Linked DNA regions of Homo sapiens: regions 1 and 2 are each linked to region 3. Evidence: promoter capture Hi-C in 16 types of primary human blood cells and fetal thymus (Javierre and others, 2016). All regions are on one chromosome and are shown on one strand. The core of a region is centred on a gene start or on the middle of the fragment in contact, and the rest is flanking DNA. Distances in the headings are between cores, read along the strand shown.

Region 1 (3,770 bases), core at 752-3,251, 64 kb after region 3:
GGAGGGAGTGGGGACAACGGTTGAAAAACTATCTGTTAGGTAACTGTGCTCATTACATGGGCAACAGGATCATTCGCACCCCAGACCTCAGTATCACGCAGTATGCCCATGTAACAAACCTGCACATGTACCCTCTGAATCTAAAATAAAAGTTGAAATTATTAAAAAAAAAATTAGCCAGATCTCAGATGTACCCTATAATTTTTCTCTTTAGGGCCATTATAGGAAAGAGCCACTTTATCCAGCAGGAAGTTAACATTCATTCAGTAGATACTTTTTAATGCCTGCTATGTGTCTAGACACATAGCTATATGCCAGAATTACAAAAGTGTACAAAAATAAACATGGTTTTTGCCCAGATAAACTTTACTCTTAGGTGGGAGAGATGGCTATTACAGTAACAAACACAGATAAAAATAAAATTACAACTTTAATAAGCATTATGTAGGAAAGGTTCATGATGCTGTAAACACATGTAGTAGTGTCATTTGACCTAGTCTTGGGGCTCAAAGATGGCTTCCTTGAAGAAGTGACTATGGAGCTGACTTGAACAATGAATAGCAGTTAAGTGGATGAAGTGAGAACCAGGCAGAGGAAAGAGCATTCATAAGAGTCCTGTCACGGGAGAAAGTGTGGGTGTTTTTGAGGAACTAAGACCATTGCGGTTGTATGGCCAAGAAGTGCCTGGAGAAGTAGTGACTAGACTAGAAAAAAGCCTGTGGGCCAAATTAAAGATTTTGATTTTTATGCTAAAAATCCTGGGAGGGGCCGGGCACAGTGGCTCACTTTGGGAGGCTGAGGCAGGCAGATTGCTTGAGCCCAGGAGTTCAAGACCAGCCTGAGCACCATAGTGAGACCCCATCTCTACAAAAAAATGAGACAAAAAAAAAAAAAACCTAGCCGGGCGTGGTGGCACATGCCTGTAGTCCCAGCTACTTTGGAGACCAAGGTGGGAAGTCACTTGAGCCTTGCAGTGAGCTTGTTCATGCCACCAAACTCCAGCCTGGGCAACAGAGCAAGACGTTGTCTCTAAATAAGTAAAAATTCACAAAATGTATAATAATCATGCAAAGGCACAACAATAAATGATGGGGCACAAAAGTGCTTAGTCCATATTGGTAATTGTTTTTGAACTGCACAGTGGTAGGAGTTGCTCCTTACAATTTTTACTTTGTGAACTCTTATTCCTTGATTTAACCCACAGCCGCTACAACAACAGCCACTGTCACTTACTGCTTTACCAAAAATTGGGGAAGCTTTCATACTTGCTTTGTTAATCTTTAACTGTATGTGTAAAGCTACACATTTCATTTCAACATTTAATATTAAAAGTGTTTTGAGTCTTTACTTAAGAGACAATTTGGTGTCTCTTAAATAGAGGTTTAGTGATGTCTTTGTGACAGAAATATGACACAGGAACTGAACTCTTGTTTCTATCAATTAGCCTGTGGTAAAATTGGTTTTGTTATATGTCGTTTCATTTAAAGTCACAGTTTCCAAGAAACTGTCAGTGAAGTGAGGACATACTGTATTTGAGAAGTATTTTGGACTTAGATATAGTTTGGTTCTGAAGACTGAAGGGAAAAATACAAAGGAAATATAGGTTTCAAAGCTGAGATTTCTGATTCGGCAACTGCTTGGATGGTAGTACCTTTCACTGAGATAGGAAATGCTGCAAGAGCAGCAGGTGGACATCACGGAGAGATGCTTAAATATGGGTAAATTAACAGCCAATCTGAGAAACGCAAGTAAATATTTCTATTTTTTTTTTCAGAATGGAAATATATCTTTATTGTTTTGCTGTTTATAAAAGTAGTATGTTCTCTTTGTAATTATTTAAACAACACAGAAGTGCTCCCTGTCTCAGTGTCATCCCCCAAGACCCCACCCCAAGAAGGAATATTTCCATCACCTTGGGTAACTTTAATCTAGTACCGTTTAAGGCCAGGGACTTTGTCCCTCAGTATCATGGGAATATTCTAATTTTTTCTCTACTGGATCAAATTGAAAACAGTACATTGGATCACTTTATTGACAGTTTATTAGGTTCCTTTTTGAACAACTGTCTTGTGCTTTACCTTCATTTCCCTCTTACCTATTTGTGTAGACATTGGATCTTCCTTTAACCAGTTTACTCCCCAGAAGAGATTTCTAGACCATGTCACCATTTTGACCATTTTGAAGTATACAATTCATGCATTAATTACATTTGCAGTGTTCTGCAACATTTTCACTGTCTAATTCCAAAATTTTTCTTCATCCCAAACAGAAACTCTGCCCATTAAGCAGTAACTCATTACCCCTTCCCACAGCCCTGGTTTACCTCTAATATACTTTCCATCTCTGTGAACATGCCTATTGTAGATATTTCATGTAAATGGAATCATACAATATTTGTCCCTTTGGCTTTTTTCACTTAGCGTAGTGTTTTCAGAGTTCATCCATGTATAGAATGTATCATTCCTTTATATGGCTGAATAGTATTCCATTGTGTGTGACACCGCATTTGGTTTATTCATTCATCTGTGGATAGGCACTTGAGTTGTTTCCACTTTTTGGCTACTGTGAGTAACGCTGTGAGCACTGGCGTTTAAGTGTGTTTAGTCCCTAGTTTCATATCTTTTGGGTTTATACCGAGAATGGAATTGCTTGGTCATTTGGTAATTTTATGTTTAACTTTTTGAGGACATGCCAAACTCTTTGCTTTCTTAATTATGATAATGCTTAAGTGAATATCTGTATTCATGAAGCTTCTTTGACACTTCCTCTTTTTTTTTTTTTTTTTGAGATGGAGTCTCGGTCTGTTGCCCAGGCTGGAGTGCAGTGGTGCGATCTCGGCTCACTGCAAGCTCTGCCTCCCGGGTTCACGCCATTCTCCTGCCTCAGCCTCCTGAGTAGCTGGGACTACAGGCGCCCCCCACCATGCCTGGCTAATTTTTTGTATTTTTAGTAGAGACGGGGTTTCACTGTGTTAGTTAGGATGCTCTCGATCTCCTGACCTCGTGATCCGCCCTCCTTGGCCTCCCAAAGTGCTGGGGTTACAGGCGTCAGCCACCGCGCCCAGCCTCCTCTTATTTCTTTAAATTCCTTGAAGTGAAATTAATGGGTCAAAAGGTGCAACAATTTGAGATACCATGCTAAATCCTATCTGAAAGGCTTGAACCCCTTTTGCTGCTGCCACAAATGTCTGAGAATGCCCTTGTCACCAAACCAACATGGCACTTAATATTTCACTGTTTTAAATGTTGGAGAATATTGTTGTCCATTTCTGGTGGAACCATAGTCTGGCGACAGAATGGCTTGCCTGACACAGCTTTTGATCACCAGCCCCAAGTCCTTCTCCCTCCCCTTCCCCTTATCCTTTGGTGCTGATCCAGCCCAGTTTATAGGTTCTGTTACATCTAACTTCCCAACTGTCTCTAGTCTGGTCACTTCTCCCCATCTGCCCAGCAAAGATGAGGTCGATTTGACTTGTAAAAGATTACCTTTTCTAAACAGTTTAAAAAAAAAAAGATGTCCTCTAACTCTGGGCCTCCCGCTGCCACTGTGCCTCTTCTCTAGAAGGCCTGAGGTCTCTGTGGAGCTTCCTACTTTGGCTGCTTCTCACATCTTTTCCTATCTTTCCTTCCTGCTATTCTCCTTCAGTTCTACAGCGAGTCGGGCATGCCTACCAAACATCTTTCAGACAGTGTGTGTGCTGTGTGTGGGCAGCAGATCTTTGTGGACGTCAGTGAAGAGGGGATCATTGAGAACACGTATAGGCTGTCCTG
Region 2 (3,939 bases), core at 1,440-3,939, 110 kb after region 3:
TACGGGAAAGAGATACGAAAATCTGAAAATTCACTCCCCATTATCTCTTGGTCCTTCCTATCCAAGTATACTCTATTTATCAGCCAACCGAAAGGTATTTTCTTAGTTCCTAAATATGATCATCCTCGCTGGGAGCAGTGGCTCACGCCTGTAATCCCAGCACTTTGAGAGACCAAGGCGGGTGGATCGCAAGGTCAGGAGATCGAGACCATCCTGGCTAACATGGTGAAACCCCGTCTCTACTAAAAATACAAAAAAATTAGCTGGGCATGGTGGCGGGCGCCTGTAGTCCCAGCTACTCGGGAGGCTGAGGCAGGAGAATGGCGTGAACCCGGGAGGCGGAGCTTGCAGTGAGCCGAGATCGCACCACTGCACTCCAGTTTGGGTGACAGAGCGAGACTCCGTCTCAAAAAAAAATAATAAAAAAAAAGATCATCCTGTGCTAGAAGCCACATGGAAAATGGGAGACAATGACATGGTCCTTGCCTTTGAGGGGCTTATAGCAGGGTAGGGAGTAAAATTAAACATATGTGAAGCACTAACAGAAGAAAATAATTAAATGCTAAATATAACTAAATGCTAATTACAATTAAGTGCTTCCTGACCCTGCAACATCCAACATGATTCCACATGTCATACCAGCATCAGTCTTGGAATTGAGCCAATTCACCTGGGCTTTGGCAAGGGCAAATGAAATGGTTAAGAGAGCTCTCAGGAGGGCAGAAAAGCTAAGGGGCTTATGTTCCTCAGTCTTGGATAATTATCATCAAGTATACCCTATCCATGGGCAAGATTATGTAGCCCTTGAGGCCAGGCATGGATGGATGCAGATAGCCCCAACTACTGCACTGCAATAAGGCTTTTCTGTGGCTGACAAGACTAAAGCTCGAGGGACCACACTTGGCTCTGTGGTGGGGCGGCAACAGCCAGACACTCAACTGGGGTTTCTTTAAAAAAAAGGCCTCTGAGCTATTAAATCACAAGGAATGAGGCTGAGATCACCGCTCCCCCATCCTCACTGCTGCCTATAGACTTGCAGTCCTTTTGATGAGGCCCAACACTTCGAAATTTTATCTGCAACTGTAGGCAGATCTTGCCCCCTTTGAAAGACTCACAGCTGTGCTACTAAAAATGTCCTGAGGTTTAACCAACCTCTTCATCTCAGAGGCAAAACATACAACCCTGAGGTCCTCCCAGGAGAGCCTGTCTAAAACTAGTTCCACTGTTCAAGAAAATGAGTGTCAAGGCTAAATATTCTTTTCTGTGTTCCCCAGGCACAGAAATACGAGGAACCCAATATTCACCACTAGGAACTCCTGAAGGACCTTGTCTGCTCTTCAGTTCTAAGCCTGTAAAGAGGTACTTTCCTAGAGACAGAACATCAGGGTGAGAGAGGCTTCAGGAGAGCCCCAGCCATTCCCTCTTCTCTGGGTAAGGAATGACTGAAGCCAGGAGCACAGCTAAGTCTTCTACATTGGGACTATAGCTTTAAGCAGACTTTGGCTGGGAACCCAAGGGCTCCCAGCCAGAGTACCATCCTCCCCACCCTCCCCCTGAAATCTGAGGCAGGCCCCACCCAGTACACTGGGTGATGCTGATGGAAAAACAGATCCTTGCGATTGTAGCCTGGAACCATTTCACAGAAGGATCTGCTGAGATCCACCCCAGCTGGATCAGGCACCCCCCGTCCCCCCCACAACCCTCACTCAATAAACAAAGAAACAAAAGGCCAGGCCCTCTGAGGGCACCTTTGGAGTTCCCATCTACCTGATTCTCTGAGAAAGAAATTCCCCCAGAATCTAAAACAGAGGCCTCACCGAGCTGGTAAGGCACCCTCTCTTTTCCCTGGTCTCAAGAAGTAACCAAGGACACAGAAGCAGTTGCGTTATAAACTTAAGGCCCTGCATCCTTTTTACATTTCCCAAACTGACACAATGCAGCTCCCCCACATCAGGACAAATTCCCACATTTACAGTAACCCCTGTTTCCAGAAAATAAATATCAAGATAAGGAAAGTGACACTAAAGAGACACGCAGCCACTCTGCCTGTACCCTCTCTGGACCTTAAAGAGTTAAAGCCTAGCCATGATTTCCTACCAGGGCTGAGGCTAATGTAAACCACCTGCTCAGACACAAGAAGCAGGACCAGAGGGTCAAGTTGCTGAGCTCTGAAGTCTGTTCTGAAAAAGCTTCAGTTTTAAGTACAGAACAAGTGATAGGCCAAAGGCCAGAGGGTCTGAGCTGCAGCAGCACTGCTCTCCTTACCCCGCCCTTGGCCTGGGTGCCAGCTCCTTTGAGACTGCCTCTTAGCCACTTACTGCCCATCAAGGGAACACCAGACCTACCTCAAGATAACACCAAAGTGACCTTTGGTCCCAGAGAGTTGTTAAACTATACCGATCTCTCAGCTCATGGGCCCTTGCTTCTGCTGAACCCTCATTCTCTTAGTGCTAACTCCCACTCCCAGAATTTCAGGGCCCAAAGCCCACACAAGCTCCCACCTCAAAGGGTCCTTCCCAGAACCCCACCCCCTTCTCCACCTGATAGTTCCAAAGGCCTACAGCCTCACAGCTCACAAAGGAAATGGCTGCCCCATCTGTGCGCCAGTGCTCACTTGCAAAATTTACCACCACTTACCCTGAGACGCTGCCTGCCTGTAGCCTAAGAATTCCATGCTCTGTACCCCTTTCTTAGAAAGATACTCCCCATCTGAGAGACACTCACATCCAAAGAGTGAAAACCCTGATCTTGGGGCTCCTCCTCCTCCAACTCTAGGACGGATAGGCCAGGAGGCACATGCAAGCAAACACCGAGATCTCACCTGGCAGGTTACCCAGAGGGGCCAAGCCACCTTGCCCTAGGCTAATAAGCTATAAAAACAGCATAGGAAATACTTTGCTGGTACATCCCCTGCCTCTGAGAAGATAAAAGGCAAGAGGACCAGTGGCTCCAAGAGACGCCATACAGAGAAAAACAATCTTTCTCAATTCCTGGGGAGTCCTGGGTAGACCGTCTGGTCCAAGTCCAAAGAGTTTCCTGAGGTCGGGGCAAACCAGTTTGGTCCATCTAAAGGGACTAGCTTGGGCTGAAGCCTCCTCTTCACACAGACCACTCCATCTTTGTAGCCTAGAGTTTGGCACAGAACCCCAAAGCCCTGGAGAGGAACAAGGGAGGGATTACAGAGGAAACCAAGCTTCTCTGGTTTCTTCAAAAGTGGCTTACAGATGTCTGCCCCTTCTCCCCGTTCTCTGGAGGGTCCAGATCAGGATGATGGCAAAAGAGCTGCAATCAGGAACCAGACCTGCAACCAGGCCTGCAGCCATGTATTGTACTGGGGCGCGTACACATACACACACACACACACACACACACACACACACACACACACACACACACACACACACACACACACACTGACCTGGGCCCCCCACCACTATATTCACACACCCTGGTCCCTATCAGCTGACAAAATGAACCTTTTTTCACTGCCCACCACCGTGCACACACCCACGGCCTCACGCAGAAATGGTGAAGCCCTCTCCTGAGCTGTCTCTACAGCTCAACGTGCAGGCAAACACGCTTTCCTTCTCTGAACAAAAACATGCTGACATCTACGCAAGGGGGAAAGAAAGCAACCCTTTGCTCTGAAAGGCGCCAACTCCCGGATGTTGGCAAGCTCTGCTCCACAGCGCCTGTTTCTGAGTATGTTTACTTGCTCTCCCTCTTCTCTCCCTCCCCTTTAAGGATGGCGCAGGAAAGGGAGGTGAGGGGGGAGAATCCACCCCACCCCCTCGTCCATGTTTGAACAAAAACCCAGAGAAAGAGTGAGGGAGAAAAAGTCTCGGTGCGGGGGGGCCTTACCAGACTCCTAAAGCCAAACGTATCTACAGGTTTTAATCCGCCATTAGCATTTAAATCTTGAAAGGAGAGGAGGAAGGG
Region 3 (3,803 bases), core at 231-2,730:
GGCACATGCCTATAGTCCCAGGTACTCACAAGGTTGAGGTGGGAGAATTGCTTGAGCCTGGGAGATGAGACTACAGTGAGCAGTTATCACGCCACTGCACTCCAGCCTGGGCGACAGAGCCGGACCCTGTATCACTCAGGCTGGGCACAGTGGTTCACACCTGTAATCCCAGCACTTTGGGAGGCCGAGGCGGGTGGATCACTTAAGGTCAGGAGTTCGAGACCATGGCCATGACCCCATCTCTGCTAAAAATATGAAATTTCCCCAGGCGTGGTGGCGCGTACGTAGTCCCAGCTATTTGGGAGGCTGAGACATGAGAATCGTTTGAACCCAGTAGGCGGAGGCTGCAGTGAGCCCAGATTGAACCAGTGCATTCCAGCCTTGGTAACACAGCGAGACACCGTTTCAAAGAAAAAAAAAAAGCACTCAGATTAAAAAACAAAATGAAACACAATACAATACTATATAGTCATGGCTACATATAATTATTAAAAATGGACTGGGAGAACACAAGCTAATTCTAATTCATAATAGTTGCTTCTGGAGAGGATGAGAGGGTAATAGGCTTGAGAGTAGAAAAAACAGGTAAGTTTAACTTTTATTGTATTATCTAGCTTTTAAAAAATAAGCAAATAAATCATAATGCCAGTAGTCAATTTAGGGTGATGGGTGTACAGTATTTACAATATTCTCCGTATTAAGTGTCACAAAATAAAAATGATTATTTTTAAGTAAATGGGATGCCTGTGGATGATGTAGATAATTCCCTGTAATTTTCTGTTGGTCCCAATGTAAAGCTGACTTTTCTAGACGTTCTGTGGGCTCACAGGCCATCCTAGTTCCATTCACCAGACAGATCCAGGCGGACGCCCAGAGGCGTGTGAGCTGGGGCTACAGGCTTGCAAGGTATCGAGTTCACCGGCTGCTGAAAAATCAGTTATGAAGGTATACGTAGGGGTGGGACAGTGAATGGTGTATAAAAAGGAGGGTAAGGCAGAAGCTGGGGCCGCAGGATGTGGGTTAGAAAAGTGTGCCGAGGTGTGTGAACTGGCATGACAGCCTAAGTAAGACGCGGAATGTGGGTGCCCTGGAGGTCCCGCAAGGCTCTTCAGCTCTCAGTTTCGGGAGCTCAAGCCGCACCGCTGCTTTCACAGCTCATCGGGAACAGGCTGCTCAGTTCATTTCCTTGATGGCCACCCTCCTCCCTCTCGGCCACTCCCCTCCCCATCAACAAATCCCAACGCCCCTCACCCGGGACCGTGGACCTCGAGGAGCCACCGTTGCCTCGGATCTCGGACCACCAAACCTATTCTCCCGCCAATTCGGCCTTCTGACCTTCGCCTTCTGACCCCGAGAGCTACTCTTCCGTCTTCCGTAGCACAGGAATGCGTTCTGGGGCTTCAAGAAGCTGCTGTTTTTGAAAATGAGTCCTACCGAGGCAAGATGGCAGGTGCTGCAGCCAGGAAAATACATTTCCGTGTGTTTTAATATTTATTTTCACTCACTACAACTCTTTCGTGGAGGGAGCGGAATTTAAACTTCCGGGTCAGCCTCAGTGCAGCTTGGGAAACGTAGTTCCTAGTCCCCACGTCTCGCTCCTTGGAGCCCAGACTGAGGGAGCGTCGCGAAAGTTGCCCGTTTTGGAACGCTCCCATTTGGCTCTCCAAAGGGAAGAATTGGTTAAATAGTTGCACTGAAAATAATGCGATTCAAATTTCTCATTTTCCAAGAACGCTCCCTTGCTGAAGCTTGCAAGGGCACGGTACTCCCCTCTCCTTGACCCTGAAACGTGCAGCAAGTAGATAACCTCCTGATCCCTGACAGTCTCCGCCTGTGTTGATGCCCCGCCCCCTCTGCTGGAGTCCGAGCCGCCGATTGGCTAGGAGCACTTGAGCAGCGGAAGCAGCTGGCTCGCGCGGGGACTGCGGTGAGGGGGCGAGCCGTGAAGATGGCGGCAGTGGTGGAGGTGGAGGTTGGAGGTGGTGCTGCTGGGGAACGGGAGCTGGATGAGGTAAGCGGAGTTGAGAGACGAGGAGAGACTCAACCTGAGACTGAGGGGAGGGGCAGTGAGGTATCGGGAGGTGGGGGTCTTAGGAGAGAAGGGAAAGATCCTGAGAGGGAAGGAGCTGACTAGGGGGCGGGTGCGTGGAGAGCGAAGTCAGAGGCACTCCTGACTTGGGGACTCCGAGGCGGCCTTGGGAGTAGAAGACTTGCATTAGCCTCAAGGGTGAAGATGGAGGACAGAGAGAGAGGTCGGAGGGGTGGGGGTGTTAAGATTTTGTGATTACTAGCTGGGTGTCTTAGGGTAGGACCGAAGGGCTAAGAGGTAGTTTGAGTTGGAGGGACGTGAATTTCTTCAGGGGAAGGCTGGGCTTCTACTGTGGGAGAGGACTCTGTCTAAGCCTAGGGTGGGGGTTGGGGACACAGACCGGGAAAGAGTGCTAATCCACTAGTAGTATAGCTTTGAGTTATCTTAAAGTTGGAACTGTTTTATTTATCGTTCCATTCTAAGACTTTGTATCTAATGCATGCTCAGTAAAGTTTTGGCCAACGAATGAAGGAACAAGTGGATGAATAAATGATTGTATGCCGGAATTCATGCATTTATTCACTTAATAAACATTATGACTTTTGCTCCGGGTTCTGGGCCAGGTGCTAGGGAGACAAGGGGCCCCTCCGTTGAAGAGCCCACAGTCTAGTGGTGGGAGACAGACAAGAAGACTAGTCATTGCATTAGAGATATAATGGTGGCACTGAGAAGTGTGCAACATTTCAGCTTGGGATAGGGAAGGCTTCCCGGAGTTGCTGAGTTTTAAACGATAAATAAGTGTCTCTCTCTTCTTCTGGATTTATGAGTTCCTTGAAGGTGAGCTCCTTGAGATTGTATGTTCCCTTTACCTATCTAATAGGCATTTAAAGACTGGTGTATTAAAATACCAGTGGTCCTTGAAGGAATCACTAGGAGGAAGGAGATGTTGAGTGTGAAAGGAATGAAGGGACAGGGCAGAGAAGCAGAGACAGAGGTGAAAAGATTCTGAAGCCATGGAGACATTGATAGCTAGTGGTGTTTGTGATCTTGCACATGCCAGCATATGGGCAAAGACATCACAGGAATAGGAGGAAGGGGATTGGTTGTCAGAGATAGAACCAGTGAGATCTCTGAGGGGTCAGAATCTTAGAGGCCCCTTGCTGTGTGTTGGGTGTGGGAAGAGTGGGGAGGATTGGGGATGATTGAAGATGAGGTTCAGAGAAAGGGAGAAGTGGACTTGGGAAGCAATAAGACTGTTGCCTGGTAGTGGGATGAGTTGGAGGAGTTGGATTACCTGATTGGGATCATTAAGGTGGGAGGAAGGGACTGAGAAATTGACAGGTGATCACAGCAGGGGGATTTTTAAAGAAGTGTTGTAGTCTTCTACCTCCCAATCACTAGAGACTACAGGTGTTTGGATACCAGTTGGTTGGTTAGGTGGAGTGGTTGTGGAAATGACCTCCAAGACCCCTTCTAGCTTTTACATTTCTGTGATTACAGTTGGCTGTGGTTCAGTGAGATATATTTGAAGACACTTTGGAAAGGGTAAATACTGTATTGAAGTTCTTATTTAAGGTTTGTTAGTCATGGGCTCTCCCTTGAGACAATTACGTATATCTCAAAGCTGTAGTTACATATGTCAGGGTTCATTGAGATAAACAGCAGAAGTTTTGGCAGAGGAGAAAATAACATTTTCTTTTTTTATTTGAGATGGAGTTTCGCTCTTATTGCCCAGGCTGGAGTGCAGTATTGCAATCTCAGCTCACCACAACCT

Evidence for each region. Contacts are between HindIII fragments. The CHiCAGO score rates a contact against its expected background, and 5 or more counts as called.
Region 1: a fragment that was not itself captured here is called in contact with the fragment with the promoter of XNDC1N in region 3 in 1 of 17 cell types (total B cells); the score reaches 5.8 in total B cells.
Region 2: a fragment that was not itself captured here is called in contact with the fragment with the promoter of XNDC1N in region 3 in 2 of 17 cell types (fetal thymus and non-activated CD4 T cells); the score reaches 6.2 in fetal thymus.

Annotation. Positions count from the first base shown.
Region 1 is chr11:71,991,074-71,994,843 of GRCh38, forward strand. RNF121 (ring finger protein 121) reads left to right here. Exons shown (of 9, transcript NM_018320.5): 7 at 3,646-3,770. Among named protein-coding and RNA genes, the nearest start is that of IL18BP, 6.0 kb to the right of the region's middle. RefSeq lists enhancers at 434-483, 664-723. The HindIII fragment of the contact is 1,494 bases long and covers 1,255-2,748 here.
Region 2 is chr11:72,037,098-72,041,036 of GRCh38, forward strand. The region is part of intron 2 of NUMA1 (nuclear mitotic apparatus protein 1); the gene reads right to left. Among named protein-coding and RNA genes, the nearest start is that of NUMA1-AS1, 25 kb to the left of the region's middle. RefSeq lists enhancers at 3,136-3,215, 3,696-3,939. The HindIII fragment of the contact is 1,004 bases long and covers 2,188-3,191 here.
Region 3 is chr11:71,927,114-71,930,916 of GRCh38, forward strand. It overlaps XNDC1N (XRCC1 N-terminal domain containing 1, N-terminal like), which reads right to left and starts at 1,481. Exons shown (of 6, transcript NM_001375847.2): 1 at 1,252-1,481. RNF121 (ring finger protein 121) reads left to right here and starts at 1,933. Exons shown (of 9, transcript NM_018320.5): 1 at 1,933-2,011. The coding sequence starts at 1,949. XNDC1N-ZNF705EP-ALG1L9P (XNDC1N-ZNF705EP-ALG1L9P readthrough) reads right to left here and starts at 1,481. Exons shown (of 11, transcript NR_172895.1): 1 at 1,252-1,481. RefSeq lists an enhancer at 1,314-1,623. The HindIII fragment of the contact is 13,024 bases long and covers 1-1,746 here.